Regions from separate parts of the Homo sapiens genome. Here region 2 is linked to region 1. The links are contacts of gene promoters, found by promoter capture Hi-C in human tissues and cell types (Jung and others, 2019). All regions are on one chromosome and are shown on one strand. The core of a region is centred on a gene start or on the middle of the fragment in contact, and the rest is flanking DNA. Distances in the headings are between cores, read along the strand shown.

What was found. Contacts are between HindIII fragments. The study calls those that stand out against the background at their distance.
Region 2: a contact is called between a fragment that was not itself captured here and the fragment with the promoter of GLYCTK in region 1, in 1 of the 25 tissues and cell types used here (hippocampus).

What each region holds. Positions count from the first base shown.
Region 1 is chr3:52,283,757-52,290,943 of GRCh38, reverse strand. It overlaps GLYCTK (glycerate kinase), which reads right to left and starts at 3,116. Exons shown (of 5, transcript NM_145262.4): 1 at 3,068-3,116; 2 at 225-640. The coding sequence starts at 601. GLYCTK-AS1 (GLYCTK antisense RNA 1) reads left to right here and starts at 1,211. Exons shown (of 1, transcript NR_046719.1): 1 at 1,211-2,364. It overlaps LOC107986086 (a long non-coding RNA gene), which reads left to right and starts at 2,924. Exons shown (of 3, transcript XR_001740699.2): 1 at 2,924-3,111; 2 at 6,353-6,416. RefSeq lists enhancers at 45-545, 3,349-3,458, 2,285-3,484, 2,790-3,531. The HindIII fragment of the contact is 16,985 bases long and covers 1-7,187 here.
Region 2 is chr3:51,532,233-51,539,838 of GRCh38, reverse strand. It overlaps LOC105377085 (a long non-coding RNA gene), which reads right to left. Exons shown (of 3, transcript XR_940835.3): 2 at 3,852-4,053; 3 at 3,170-3,680. RAD54L2 (RAD54 like 2) reads right to left here and starts at 1,120. Exons shown (of 23, transcript NM_015106.4): 1 at 924-1,120. RefSeq lists enhancers at 144-233, 1,052-1,346 and a silencer at 764-1,163. The HindIII fragment of the contact is 7,506 bases long and covers 1-6,901 here.

The DNA.
Region 1 (7,187 bases), core at 1,867-4,366:
CAGCACGCAAGAGATGGGGTGGACTCCTCTCCTCCCACCTGATCTCTCAACTTTACAGGTGATGGGGGCATGAACGAAGATGCCCACTGACATGCATCCTGGGGCCAGGCCAGATCCAGGAGAAATGGGAAGCGGGTGGGGAGGGGAGGCCCGATTCAGCCTGTGTCTGGGCCCAGGTTTCCCTCCAGATAGATAGAGGGAGGCAGGCCCCCATGGCTCCTTACTGCTTGCCGGCACGCTCCATGGCAGCACGGATCCCCTTGGGAACGCTGATCACGCCCTGCACAAGATGCTGGCCCAGTAGTTCCTCAGCTGCAGCTGCCATACCCAGCACAGCCTTGCCAAAGCCCACCAGGTAGAGGTTTTGCCTCAGCTGAAAGTTCCGGTCCCGCACCTTCAGCTGTCTGCCACCAGGGTCCAAGGATAGTGCCCGGTGCAGCATGGGGCCCGGCAGCACTGCACCTACAGCACTCTCAAACAGCTGCCTGGCCTGCTCTGCCAAGGCCATGCTGCTGGCCAGACGGGCCACTGAGCCCCGCCAGAGGAGTGGATGCAAGGGGGCTCGGGCCAAGCGGGGCAGGACCTGCAGGGCTGCAGCCATGCCCCACTGCTCTCAGCACTGCCTGGCACCCATGGCTGCCTAGAGGGAAAAAGCACAACTGAGGCCCTTGCAAGGCAAAAGACAGGAGGTCCCCCACGGCCGCCCCTCTGAGGGCTCAGGGCCAGTGGACCCCACAGCTGCTGCTACAAGAAGGAGCCATCTGATAGCCCCAGGAGACTTCCTGAAGCCTGCAGCTGCAGGATCTTACTCGTCCTTGGAGACCAGCCCTGCCACCCAGCCACGTCCTCCTCTTCTGCAGACCACATGCCGGCCCTCTGGATACTCTGCCTCAAGTCCAAAGTTCCTATTAGCTGGGCCCTCCTCCCAGGTCACCCCTTTGGCTGGGAGTTAATCATTGACAGAGGGAGTAATTTCTACCAGTGGGCTCCCATCCCACCCCTTTTCCACCCCCTGCACTTCTGCGCTGTTACCCTGGGGCAACGCCCCTTTCTGGCACTCCTTCCTTGCCTCTTTACCACCTCTGCTGCCAGGAAGCTGTTGATTGTCCCACCAACTGACCCTGAGCCCATTGACCTCCAGTCTTCTCTATTTCATTATCTCATGAGACTGGGATTAGGAGCCTGGGAAGTCAGGGTCTATAGGAGGCTGCAGGTTTATCAGGTCAAACCCAGAACACATCCTCAGGGCAAGCAATCTGAGGAATCTCAGTATGCAGGACCAGTTCAGCAAGAGGTTTAGGTTCAAATCAGGAGTGAGGGCAAAGTCTGGCTCATGGTGGAACCTTAGAAAAGTCCCCAGGCACCATGTGAGGCCATGTGCCATGAAGCCCAATTGCAGGACAGAAAAGGATGCCCTTCTACCCACACAGTTGGCCAGACCCAACCCTGCCAAGAACACGCCTTCTGGTTCCAAGATAACAAAAACAAGTCCTAGGTCACACCACCCACAGTGGTGAGAGCCCAAGGGCTGAAGTAGGCAAAGGCCAGGCTCCCATAACTGAGCCCATAGCCATTTTCCCCACTGGGCAGAGTAAAAGCTAAAGAAGCCTTGGGGCGAAGGTCAGGAAGCTGTAGAGGGGTATAGGAACAACAAAGACCCAAACAGCTCATCTGTACTACATATGTACTATTGCATCTACTTTAATAAATGCCTACCATAAATGTTGCAAGCTGACTTCATCAGCAAGTATGGACTGAGCAGGGTAAGGAGGCTGGGAATTGAGGTTCCAGCTCTACTATAGGCTTTCTGAGTGGCTGGGACACCTCCATTTCTCTCACTGGGCCTCATCCGCAAAATGAGACATGGGGTGAGATTAACACTACGCTCTTCCCTTAACAACCTCAGGCTCTCTGATACTGTCCACTGCAACACAGATCTCAAACACCGGTTTACCCCACACCCAAATATGGTGGTTACTTCTAGACTTTGACCATTTTGCTTGCCTAGTTCTCAGCTCTCCGGTAAGAAAAGACAGCCATGCCTGACTTCTGTTGTGAAAGGGAACACAGAGGGCATCGTCATGGGGATTCCGAAAATGGGTCCAGTTTTGGCCAGGGGGACCCCTGGAGCTTGCCCATTGGACTTGGAGCTAAAAGCATCTTAGCAACTAAGACAGCCGGTCTTTATAGCCTGGATGAAATTTGTATCTATTTCCCAGATGGACAAGAGCCTAGAAGATCCCAGCCTTGCCACTGGGTATGAGCACAGGACAGGGGGACGCTCAATGCTAAGGCTGCCAGAGAAAATACAGGACTTCCGGTTAAATTTGAATTTCAAATAAACAAGTAATTTTTAAAGTATAAGTATGTGCATACAATGTTTAGGACTTAACAATTATTCGTCGTTTATCTTAACTCAAATTTAACTGGACGTGGCCCGGCGCAGTGGCTCACGCCTGTAATCCCAGCACTTTGGAAGGCTGAGGCGGGCGCATCACCTGAGGTCAGGAGTTCGAGACCAGCCTGACCAACGTGGTGAAACCCCGTCTCTTCTAAAAATACAAAAATTAGCCGGGTGTGGTGGGCGCCCGTAATCCCAGCTACTCGGGAGACTGAGGCATGAGAATCATTTGAACAGGGGAGGCGGAGGTTGCAGTGAGCCGAGATCGCGCCACTGCACTCCAGCCTGGGTGACAGAGTGAGATTCTAACTCAAAAAAAATGTAACTGGACGCTTTGCATTTTTATTTGCTAAGTCCTCCAATTCTATCCAAGACACGGTCTCTCCGAAACTCCGGGAGGCTCCAGAGCAAAACAACGGAAATAGGAAGACTACCGGTCTTGACTCCTCCCCGCCATCAAAGAAGGCTGGTACCATTTCCGGCTTTCCCTAGACAGTAGGGGGCCGGAAGTGACGTCATCCTAAGGTAGGGCCTTAGCGAGGGAAATGGCTGCCGCGTAATGCCCGGTGATGCGAGAAAGAAGGGCCTGCTGCCACCAGGACCCGTCATCGCCCAGCCCAGGGACCGCTTCTGAAGGCCATGCGAGCCCTGGCGGCGCAGACTTACCAGCCCACAGCTCCGGCCGCGGTGCCCAGCGCTGGAGAACGGAAGTACTAGGGGGTGGGCGGAGCGGAAGCCGGAAGTGTGGGTGGGTGGAGCGGCGCAGGCGGGTGCGAGCTCTGGCTGAAGCCGGTGTCCGGGAGGGGAGAGTTTAGCATATTGGCTCTTTGCTGGCCACTGACAGACCTGGAAGGAGTCACCTTCAGTCCTCATTTTTTAAATCTCTACATTGAGGGTAATAATCCCCGCCTCACCGATTGCCGATTTTTTTTTTGAGACGGGGTCTCATTCTGTCGCCCAGACTGGAGTGCAGAGTCGCGGTTTCGGCCCAATGCAACCTCCGCCTCCCGGATTCAAGCGATTCTCATGCCTCAGCCTCCCGAGTAGCTGGGATTACAGGCATGTGCCACCACTCCGGGCTAATTTTTGTATTTTTTAGTAGAGACGGGCTTTCGCCATGTTGCCCAGGCTGGTCTCGAACGCCTAACCTCAAGCGATCCACCCACCTCAGCCTCCGAAAGTGATGGGATTACAGACTTCAGCCGCCGCACCCGGCCTCTCCCTTCCTTTATCCTGTACGGTCAGTCAGCAGATGCACCCTGAGTGTCAGGCACTGACTGGGCTGAGCAAACGAACTGAGAATCACTACTTCCCCACAACTCACCCCTTCTGGAGCCAGATTAAGTAATTCCCGCTCCTCTCCATGGCTTTTATTCCACAACTTATTATTGTTCTTCCCTCTCCCACCATGGGCCACCAAATACAGCTCTGGCTTAGCAAGAGTTCCATTCTGCGATCCTCAAGCACATAAGCGGCATGTAAACGCTAATGACTCTGGGCCTACCTCGCTGTCCCTACTCTCATCCGGGGCCTACCCTGTGTTGGCTGGATGCCTTCCCACATTCATAAGATGAGTCCTGATCAGACTCCAAAAATACAAAACAGTTCACTGTTTTTACTGATGTTTTCTTAGGGAGATAGAGGAGAGAGTTGCATCACAAATCACACACTTGATTTCCTAACAATTTTATTGAAACATGTTTCTTGGCAGGGCGCAGTGTTTCACGCCTGTAATCCCAACATTGGGGAGGCCAAGGTGGGCGGATCGCTTGAGCCTAGGAATGCGAGACCAGCCTGGGAACATGGCGAAACTTATCTCTACCAAAAAAAAAAGAGCCAGGTGTGGTGGCATGCTCCTGTAGTCCCAGCTACTCAGGAGGCTGAGATGGGAGGATCACCTGAGCCTGGGAGGTAGAGGCTGCAGTGAACCTTGATCACGCCACTGCACTCCAACCTGGGCCCCTGTCTCAAAAAAAAACCAACAAACAAAAACACATTTCTTTCTCTTGGTTTTGAGGTGGAGTCTTGCTCTGTCACCCAGGCTGGACTGCAATGGCACAGTCTCAGCTCACGGCCACTGCACTGCAGCCTGGGCACGATGTCGGCTCACTGCAACCTCCGCCTCCCAGGTTCAAGCAATTCTCCTGCCTCAGCCTCCCGAATAGCTGGGACTACAGGCGCCCGCCACCACGTCCAGCTAATTTTTGTATTTTTAGTAGAGACAGAGTTTCACCATGTTGGCCAGGCTGGTCTCGAACTCCTGACCTTGTGATCCACCGCCCTTGGCCTCCCAAAGTGCAGGGATTACAGGCGTATAAACAATTACAGGCGCCCGGCCTATATAAACAACCTTCATCTTTCCCCATGCTGGAGAACACTAATTGCCACTGCTTGGTGTCTGTGTTTCCCTGGATGGCTGCCCTCACACTTTATGCTTGAATAAATTCTTTTAACTGGATATCGAACCTTTTGATGATTTTTAGGTTGACATTAGAAATGTGTTTTTGGGACAGGTGCAGTGGCTCATGCCTGCAATCCCAGTACTTTGGGAGGCTGAGGCAGGTGGGATCATTTGAGGTCAGGAGTTCGAGACTGGCCTAACCAATATGGTGAAACCCCATCTCTACTAAAAAATACAAAAATTAGCTGGGCATGGGCCGGGCACAGTGGCTCACACCTGTAATCCTAGCACTTTGGGAGGCTGAGGCAGGTGGATCACCTGAGGTCAGGAGTTCAAGACCAGCCTGGCCAACATGGCGAAACCCCGTCTCTACTAAAAATACAAAAATTAGCTAGGCATGGTGGTGTGTGCCTGTAATCCCAGCTACTGGTGGGGCTGAGGCAGGAGGATTGCTTGAACCTGGGAGGTTGCAGTGAACCGAGATTGCGTGACTGCCCTCCAGCCTGGGTGACAAAGCGAGACTCCGTCTCAAAAAAAAAAAAAAAAAAGATTGTTTATATAGGCAAAAACAGGAGTGCTGACCAGAATTACAACATTTTCCAAAAAAAGGCTAACATAAATACAAGATTTGGTTGGCTACTATTGATTATACTGGAAGGAGTTTGCTTAACATTCTATTGTAAAGAGACAACAATCACAAGGGTCTCTATCTCCCACATCATCTAGTCTAAGTCTGAATGAAGAATAGGGAGCCTGGTTAATGTATAACATTTCAATACAAAGATCAGGAAGCAGCAGTCATGCATCAGAGAAGAAAAAAAAAAAGCAATGCCTGCTCAGTTTCCAGGGCTTCACTTTTCTCCTTCACATTATAAATTGGGAATGTCCTAAAATTTTATTTTCTTTTCACACCCCCTACCTGCTCCCTTTGGCAGTTGCTACATCTCTCCTTAGGTCTCCAAACCATGCTGTGCTCTTGTCATGAACCTTTCCCTTCCTCTGGCCCCCACTTCCAGCTCTCTCCCTGGATTTTTCTTTTTCTTATATATACATATATTTTTATTTGAGACAGGATCTCACTCTGTCACCCAGGTTGGAGTTCAGTGCCATCATCTTGGATTATTGCAACCTCCACCTCCGAGGCTCAAGTGATCCTCCCACTTCAGTCTCCCAAGTAGCTGGGACCACAGACGTGCACCACCACACCCAGCTAATTTTTTGTATTTTTTGTAGAGAAGTGGTTTTGCCATGTTGGCCAGGCTGGTCTCAAACTTCTGCGCTCAAACCATCTTCCTGCCTCTGTCTCCCAAAGTGCTGGGATTACAGGTGTGAGCCACCACACCCGTCCTTCTCCCTGGATTTTTCCTTTTAAAATATGAGACTTTGTATTCCTTCTCCTAAATGATTTCCCACCACATCATCAAAACAAAGGCATCCGTAGGTGGAATTGCCCTCTTTAATGTGGGAGAGGTTGTAAATACTGAAAATTTTATTGTTTTTTCTTGGTTATAGTCAGCTATATTCCTTCCATGCATTTATTCCTTCCTCAGACATAATTCAAGACATTTCCTGAGTGCCTTCTGTGTGGGCCGAATGCTGTAGCTGCTGGGATAGGTAAGAAGTGGTACTTTTAATTTTAATTTTTTTTTGTTTTTAGGAGACAAAGTCTCACACTGTCGCCCAGGCTGGAGGACAGTGGTGATTACAGCTCACTATAGCCTCAACCTCCTGGGTTGTAGCGATCCTCCTGCCTCAGCCTCTCAAGTAGCTGGGACTACAGGTGCACACCACCATGCCTGGCTAATTTTTTGTGGAGACAGGGTCTTGCTTTGTTGCCCAAGCTGGTCTCAAACTCCTGGGCTCAAGCAGTTCTCCTGCCCCAGCCTCTGAAAGTGCTGGGACTATAGGTGTAAGCCACTGTGCCCAGCCTGGGCTTGCAGGGTTACTCCGTGGGAGGGAAGGTCAGCTGTGTTGGAGGCAGGGTAAAGTGGAGCTGTGTCCTATGTAAGGGCTGTACAACACCTTAAAACTGGGAGGCCGAGGTGAGCGGATCACTTGAGGTCAGGAGTTTGAGACCAGCCTGGCCAACATGGCAAAACCCCGTTTCTACTAAAAATACAACAACAACAACAACAACAACAACAACAACAAATTAGCCGGATGTGGTGTCACGCACCTATAATTCCAGCTACTCGGAAGGCTGAGGTGGGAGAATTGCTTGAACCCAGGAGGTAGAGGTTGCAGTGAGCTGAGATCACACCACTGCACTCCAGCCTGGGTGACAGAGTGAGACTCTGTCTCAAAAAAAAAAAAAAAAAAATTAAAAAAAATAAAACATCTTAAAGCTATTTTTCTTGGAAGGAGGAGTTGGGGAGAGTAAAACAA
Region 2 (7,606 bases), core at 1,899-4,398, 750 kb after region 1:
CAGCCACCAATATAGTCAGCCACAATCCCTAGCAAGCAACAGGAATCCTAACAGATCTGAGTCACCCACTCCCACGCAGTAAGAGGTCACTCTCCATCAGGAAGCCCACTCTGCAAAGTTTCCTTGTTCATCTCCCAGGCTGCCACCACCATGACCCACATAAAGCTGATTCTCCAATCTCAGTAGCCTATCAACCCTCCTCTACACTCCCCAAACCACAACTCCCACCGGCCTCACCCTAACGACAAGACAGCTAGCACTACTCACCGTGTGCCACTACTCACTCCTGTGATAAGTTCCTTGCCTGAAAACCACTCCTCGTCAGGGTGCATCAGGGCCCCGGAGGATCCAGCTCTCTGCTTAACTCTCTTGTGCCCAGCTGAGCTCCTGCCTTTCCAGGAACTAATCACCAGTTACCTCAGGGAAGCTAAACTCTCAATGCCTCTTCTGCCCCAGCCCGACCCCAGTCTGCCAAATTCCCAGACCTCAGGAGAGGGGGTCGGGGAGACGCATCCAGATGCGCCTTAGGGATTAGACACACAGAAGCCCCTAAAATTCCAAATACTTTCCCAACCCCACACCGCGCTCTGGTCATCCTCCGGGGCGCCAGCATCCAGAGCCAAAAGCGCAGAGGGGCAACAGTTAAGTCTCCGTGTCCCTACGACTCCCTTCCCCGGCTACGAAATCCTCAAATATCAAGCCACTGAGGCCCCGGGTCGAGGCCCAAGACCCCCGCCAAGCCTCCGGCCACTGGAGTTTCCCGGGTGGGGGACCCCGTGCCCCGAAGGCCCGGGCCGCTGGGTCCATCTAGCTGCCCCGAGCCACTGCATGGCAGGGGCCCAGGCCGCGTCTCCAGTCGGTCCCCATTGTTGCGGGACCCGGCGGCCCCGGCCGGGAGCGAGGAACCGGCACCGGCGTCTCACCTCCTGCGCCGCGGCTCCGGGCCGCGCCGGACCGCGCAGGGCCGAGGGACCTCACGTTCAGCTTCGCCCGCCTAGGCAAAGTCTGCGGCGGCGGAGGCGGGGGCGGCGGCTGAGGCGGGAAGCAGCCGGCCAGGCCCGGGCGCCGCGGGCTGGCTCTGGCCAAGCGTCGGTCTCCACCGGCGGCGGCGCTCGCCAGCCTCCGCTCACGGTCCGCGCCAGAAAGCGTCCCCCTCCCGGCCCGCGCGCCCGACCGCACGGACGGGAACACGCGCCGCGGAGAGGAAAGTTCCGCTGAGAGCCGACTGAAGGCCGTTCCCCTGCGCCGGGTGTACGGCGATTCCTGCCTGGATGGGACCGTTTCTGGAATGAATGCCGCACAGAAATCCCAAGCCAGAAGCTGCCTGAGAATGGTTCTAGGGGTGGGTCCAACGGAATGGTTTTGCACTCGCCAGCCATTTAGCATCTCAATTGAGCCTCAGTTTCTCCTCATTTCTCATTGGGAATAATCTAGGCGGCTTGTTAGGATTGAATGAGGTGATGCGAATACCTAGCTCAGAGATAGGGAGCTCTACACCGGGGTACGATCGTTACTGATCCTGCCAATGCTGCTGCTACTGTTGCCTCCAACATAGGTTGTGCTCAGCCCTCAAGGGCCCTTGAAATTATGCGCATCATGTAACTCTTCTTTTTTCACCCTCGGTCCCCACCTACCATCCTGTTTCCTGTTAAGTGAAGCTGTCTTCAGAATTCCCTGGAAGAGAAGCAGAGGCAAAAGGGGGCTTTCTTGATTGCTGACACTCAGGTGGAGGTTAAGGGTGCAGGTTCTCCTTCCTCAAGTTGGGAATTACTGCCATGTGGCCATGTGGGCTCCAGTTACTGATGGGACTGTAACGGCTCTCTCCACTATAGCCTCAGGTTCTCTTCTCCTCTTCCCAATAAGTGAATGTTGACAAAATGATTTTTTTTTTTTTGAGAAGGAGTTTCGCTCTTGTCGCCCAGGCTGGAGTGCAGTGGCGGGATCTTGGCTCACTGCAACCTCCGCCTCCTGGGTTCAAGCTATTCTCCCGCCTCAGCCTCCCGAGTAGCTGGGATTACAGGCGCCCGCCACCACGCCCCGCTAATTTTTTGCATTTTTAGTAGAGACAGGGTTTCGCCATATTGGGCAGGCGGGTCTCGAACTCCTGACCTCAGGTGATCCTGCCCACCTCTGCCTCCCAAAGTGCTGGGCCACCAGGCGTGAGCCACCACCTCTGGCCGACAAAGTGATGTTTTAAATTACAAAAGTGCATCTTTCTTTGAAGGCTTTGTATTTTACTCATAAAATCAAGAGGATAGCAATTCCTTTCTCGTCCCCACTTTCCTTTTCTTCTAGGCCTTCACACCTCTAAGATACCAGATGCGGTTATTTTTGGAGCTAACTCTTGATGGGAATTTAGATCTGCAGAAGGTGTTCCAAAAAAAATCCTAATTTTCAGGTGTTCTCAAATTTCCCATTTTTACATACCCCCTTGGCTTCTGAGACACATATATGCCTGATTTTTCATTTATATTATTTTCTGGAGGTAATGAAAGGGTTCTGCCTGTCAAAAGGCACTTTGCTATCTAATATGGATCTGTGTCCCCACCCAAATCTCATGTTGAATTGTAATCCCCAATGTTGGAGGTGGGGTCTGGTGGGAAGTAATGGGATCATGGGGGTAGATCCTTCATGAATGGCTTAGCACTGTCCCTTTGGTTCTCTTCTTGTGAGTTCTCACAAGATCTGGTTGTTTAAAAGTGTATGGTGTCGGCTAGGCGCGGTGGCTCATACCTATAATCCCAGCACTTTGGGAGGCCGAGGCAAGTGGATCACCTGAGGTTAGGAGTTTGAGACTAGCCTGGCCAAAATGGCAAAACCCTGTCTCTACTAAAAATGCAAAAATTAGCCAGGCATGATGGTGTGTGTCTGCAATCCCAGCTACTCGGGAGGCTGAGGCAGGAGAATCACTTGAACCCAGGAGGTGGAGATTGCAGTGAGCTGAGATTGTGCCACTGCACTCCAGCCTGGGCAACAGTGAGGCTGTCTTAAAAAAAAAAAGTGTATGGCACCTCCCCCCACTTCTCTTTTCCTCCTACTCCAGCCTTGTGAGGTGCTCGCTCCCCCTTCGCCTTCCACCATGAATGTAAGTTTTCTGAGTCCTCCCCTGAAGCCCAGCAGATGCCAGCATCATGCTTTCTGTACAGCCATGAGCCAATTAAACCTCTTCTTTATAAATTATCCAGTGCCAGGCATTTATTTATAGCAGTGTGAGAACAGACTAATAGAGTGTTCCTTCTGGAAACAGCAGGCTCATGGGTTAGAAAGCAGCACAGTCAAAGCCTCTGGAAGCTTCTCCGCTTCCTCAGGTAAGAGGAACTTCATCCTAGGTTCTTCAGAGGCAAAGAATGCCTCAAAAGCTGGTTCCAGCCAAGTGCAGTGGCACATTTCTGTAGTCCCAGCTTCTCAGAAGGCTGAGGCAGGAGGCTCACTTGAGCCCAGGAAGTCAAGTTCAGCTTGGGCAATATAGCAAGACACTATCTCTTAAAAAAATAAATAAAAATTTTAAAAAGCTAGTTAACTTCTCTCCAGCAGCCTGAGGTCAGATCAGCATTCCGACCCCTCCCAGCTTCATGTCTTGCATTTTACTCATTTGGCCTCTTAGCTGGGACTCTCCGGGTGACACATAGAGCATATTTGGCCTCAGGAGTTGAAACAGGTTCACATGAAAGCCCCAGAGACTACCAAAGAGAGGAGAAAGAAACCAGTCAGGTTGGCCAGATATATTTAAACGCACACACACACACACACACACACACACACACACACTCCTATTGTTAATCCCCCCACCCCCATCCCCTGGCCCCCAATTAAAAGACTTAAGGCACAACCACCAAAACATAGACACTTACCTTTCTCATGTCACTAAAGTAGGAGCCACAAAGGCCAGAGCTAGCTCCCCTGGTGATGGAAGCCTCTTCCATTCCCTCCTCCCAGGATGGCATTGTCCTTCTGTAACATCTGTTTCCCCACCCTTCTAGAAATTCCCTGACTACTTGGATGATGTCATGCCCGCACAACAACCTCTGAGATTCATGGTACCCCAAAATTCACCTGTAGAAAGATTTGGTTCTATTAGGGGAAGTCCCTAGAGTGATTTATGCATACACCTGCCTATTGTTGGCTATACCTTTAAGTGAGTTTAAAAGATCTGGGACTGCCCTTCTGGGATTAGGCAAAATTCACCAGGGACTTGTTGGTTAATCAGAAACCAGAACAAGGTTTTCTTCATCACCATGAAAACACACATGGAAAAACACTCTCTTCATTTTTTTTTTTTTTTTTTTTTTTGAGATGGAGTCTTGCTCTGTCACCCAGGCTGGAGTGCAGTGTCGTGATCTCGGCTCACTGCATCCTCCACCTCCCAGGTTCAAGCCACCCTCTTCATTTTATCTGTTTCACCTCCTGCTTATTCCGTGAGAGTTAGATCAATCCTGCACCCACCAGCCACACTTAATGGCCCCCCCTCACTTCTGAATGCCAAAGCCATGATCACTCTGAACCAGATTCCAAGGTGACAAAGGGTTGTATTGCTTTCTTCAACAGTCATCCCATTCTTGGGATATTTTTACCTTTTCTGCTTGTATACCACTCATCACCCAGATTATAATGTCCTAGGAGATTTTTTAAAAATCGACCCCAGTATCTAATGACGGCCTAGCATAATTGCTACGCCATAAAATTCCCCATTCAGCAACTATTTACTGGGTACCAATATGTACCAGGCACTGGCCAGGCACGGTGGCTCATGCCTGTAATCCCAGCACTTTGGGAGGCCAAGGCGGGCGGATCATGAGGTCAGGAGATCAAGACCATCCTGGCTAACATGGTGAAATCCCGTCTCTACTAAAAATACAAGAATTAGCCAGGCGTGGTGGCGGGCGCCTGTAGTCCCAGCTACTCAGGAGGCTGAGGCAGGAGAATGGCGTGAACCCAGGAGGCAGAACTTGCAGTGAGCCGAGATGACGCCATTGCACTCCAGCCTGGGTGACAGTGCGAGACTCCGTCTCAAAAATAAATAAATAAATAAATAAATAAATAAAAGATGTACCAGGCACTGTACCCAATGCTGGGGAATACTAGTAAGACATGACAGGCATGACCATAAGCATTTTACAGTTATTAACTCATTTAATCCTCACATCAACATTCCACTTCAAAGGTGGAAAAATAAGCTGAGAAGTCAGAAGAGCGATGGGGTTTGAGTGCAGATCATCTAGGTCCAGAGCCCATGCTTATAACCATCCCCAACATGAATGAGGAAGTATGTTCAGAGTTGAGCCTAGAAGAGTGTGGTCTGTAGAATGTGACTAATAGAAACCTATCCTATATGGATGTTCATTCAAATGAACAGATGTTTATTGTTCCCCAGTTGTATTTCAGATGCTGATATGCCCTGGGGAACACAGCACTAAACAGGAGGGAACAGGTCTCTGCCCTCAAGTAGCTTACCTTCTAAACAGGTGAGAAAGACAGTACAAAATAATTGCAAATTCTAATAAGTTCTGAAAACACGAAACAGAGACCAGTATGGGAGAGAGGCTGTTGGAAGAGGGAAGGCATTGGGTAAGACCAACCCAATGAGGTGTCCTGTGAGCTGAATCCTGAATGCCAAGAATGCTAACGAGAACCATGTAAAGTCTCAGGGAAGAAGAATTCTAGGCAGAGGGACCAGAACTTGGGGGCAACATGGTGTGTAGGTGTAGTGAGAAGCCCCAGATAACTGCCCTGTGAAAGATTCTCCCCAGGGCCTGAAAGCTTGAAGGGATGAGTAACTCCTCCCTTCTCAGGCCCAGTCCCAAGGCAAAAGGCCACTTGCGCTAGCAGTGTGCGTCAGCAAGATAGCAGAAGCAGGAAGAGAGCCGGCCGGAAGACACCTACCCAGGCCGGAAGACACCTCCCCTGGCCGGAAGACACGTAACTCTGAAGATCGAGAAAAAGGCCACCCAGGTACCACGTAGCAGTTACGTCAGACTGGGACACTTCCTGTTTACAGGAGACTATAAAACCCCTGCCCCATCCTCACTTGGGGCTGATGCCATTTTAGGCCTCAGCCCGCCTGCACCCAGGCGCTCATTAAAACAGTGTGTTGCTCCACACCGCCTCGTGTTGTCCATTGGCGTGCTCTCGGGGTTTGAACCGATACAAGAACTTTCATCTGGTGCCGAAACCTGGGGCAGGGGTTTTCCGCTCCTCCTAGGCACCACCTCCCAAAAAGCTGAACTCATTGCTGTCACTCAAGCTCTCACTCTAGCAGCCAGACAACAAATTAACATATATTTGGATTCTCGTTATGCGTTCCATGAAGTACACTCACACTCGTCTATCTGGAAAGAACGAGGTTTCCTAACTGCAAAAAACACTCGTGTCATAAATGGCTCTCTCATCAGCAAGCTCCTTCAAGCTGCCAGTCTCCCACAGAAAGTTGCCATCATTCATTGCAGGGGCCACCAAATCCCAGACAATTCTATATCGGCCGGAAATGCTTTAGCAGATCAGGTAGCCAAACAAGTAGCCCTATAACCCATGCAAGGCCAGTTTCTGTCCCTGTCCTTGTTCTCTCCTCTTTCCTCCTCAGAAGAAAAGGAGGACTTCCAGGCCCAGAACCTCCAAAAGCAAGGACCACGGTATGTCAAGGAAGGGCACTTCGTTCTTCCTCACTCTCAAACAATTCCTATCCTCCAAAGTCTCCACAACTCTTTTCATGTCGGTTACAAACCTCTCTTACAACTTCTCCGCCCTATTCTCACTTGTGCTCACCTTTCCAGCCATGTCTGAGAGATTACCCAGTCCTGCTCTATCTGCCACTCAGTGTCACACCCAGGTTCCCTCCAGCCACTGCCTTTTCCTACCCACCAAGCCCAGGGCCAGATACCCGGGCAAGATTGGCAAGTAGATTTCACTCACATGCTGCCCGATAAATGGCTCCGCTATCTTCTAGTCTTTGTACTTTCTCTGGGTGGGTAGAAGCATTCCCAACAACTTCAGAGGGTGCAAATATCATCACACAAACGCTCATCATGCCTATAATTCCCCGTTTTGGACTCCCAACATCCATCTAGTCCAAAAACAGGCCCTCCTTCATCACCTTATCTAAGGTGTCTCCACATCCTGAGGAATAAAGTGGGTTCTCCACATCCTGAGGAATAAAGTGAGTTCTCCACACACCCTACAGGGCTCAATCTTCAGGCAAAGTTTTATTTTATTTTATTTTTATTTTTGGAGATGGAGTCTTGCTCTGTCACCTAGGCTGGAGTGCAGTGGTGTGATCTTGGCTCACTGCAATCTCCGCCTCCCAGGTTCAACCGATTCTCCTGCCTCAGCCTCCTGAGTAGCTGGGACTACAGGCACCCGCCACCATGCCCAGCTAATTTTTGTATTTTTTTAGTAGAGACAGGGTTTCACCATGTTGGCCAGGATGGTCTCAATCTCTTAATCTCATGATCCGCCCGCCTCGGCCTCCCAAAGTGCTGGGATTATAGGCGTGAGCCACCATGCCTGGCCAAGGCAAAGTTGAAAAAGTCAACTCTGTCCTTAAAGCCCAACTCACCAAGCTAGCTCTAGAAACCCATCTGTCGTGGACAAGAAATCTCCCTTTTGCCATCAT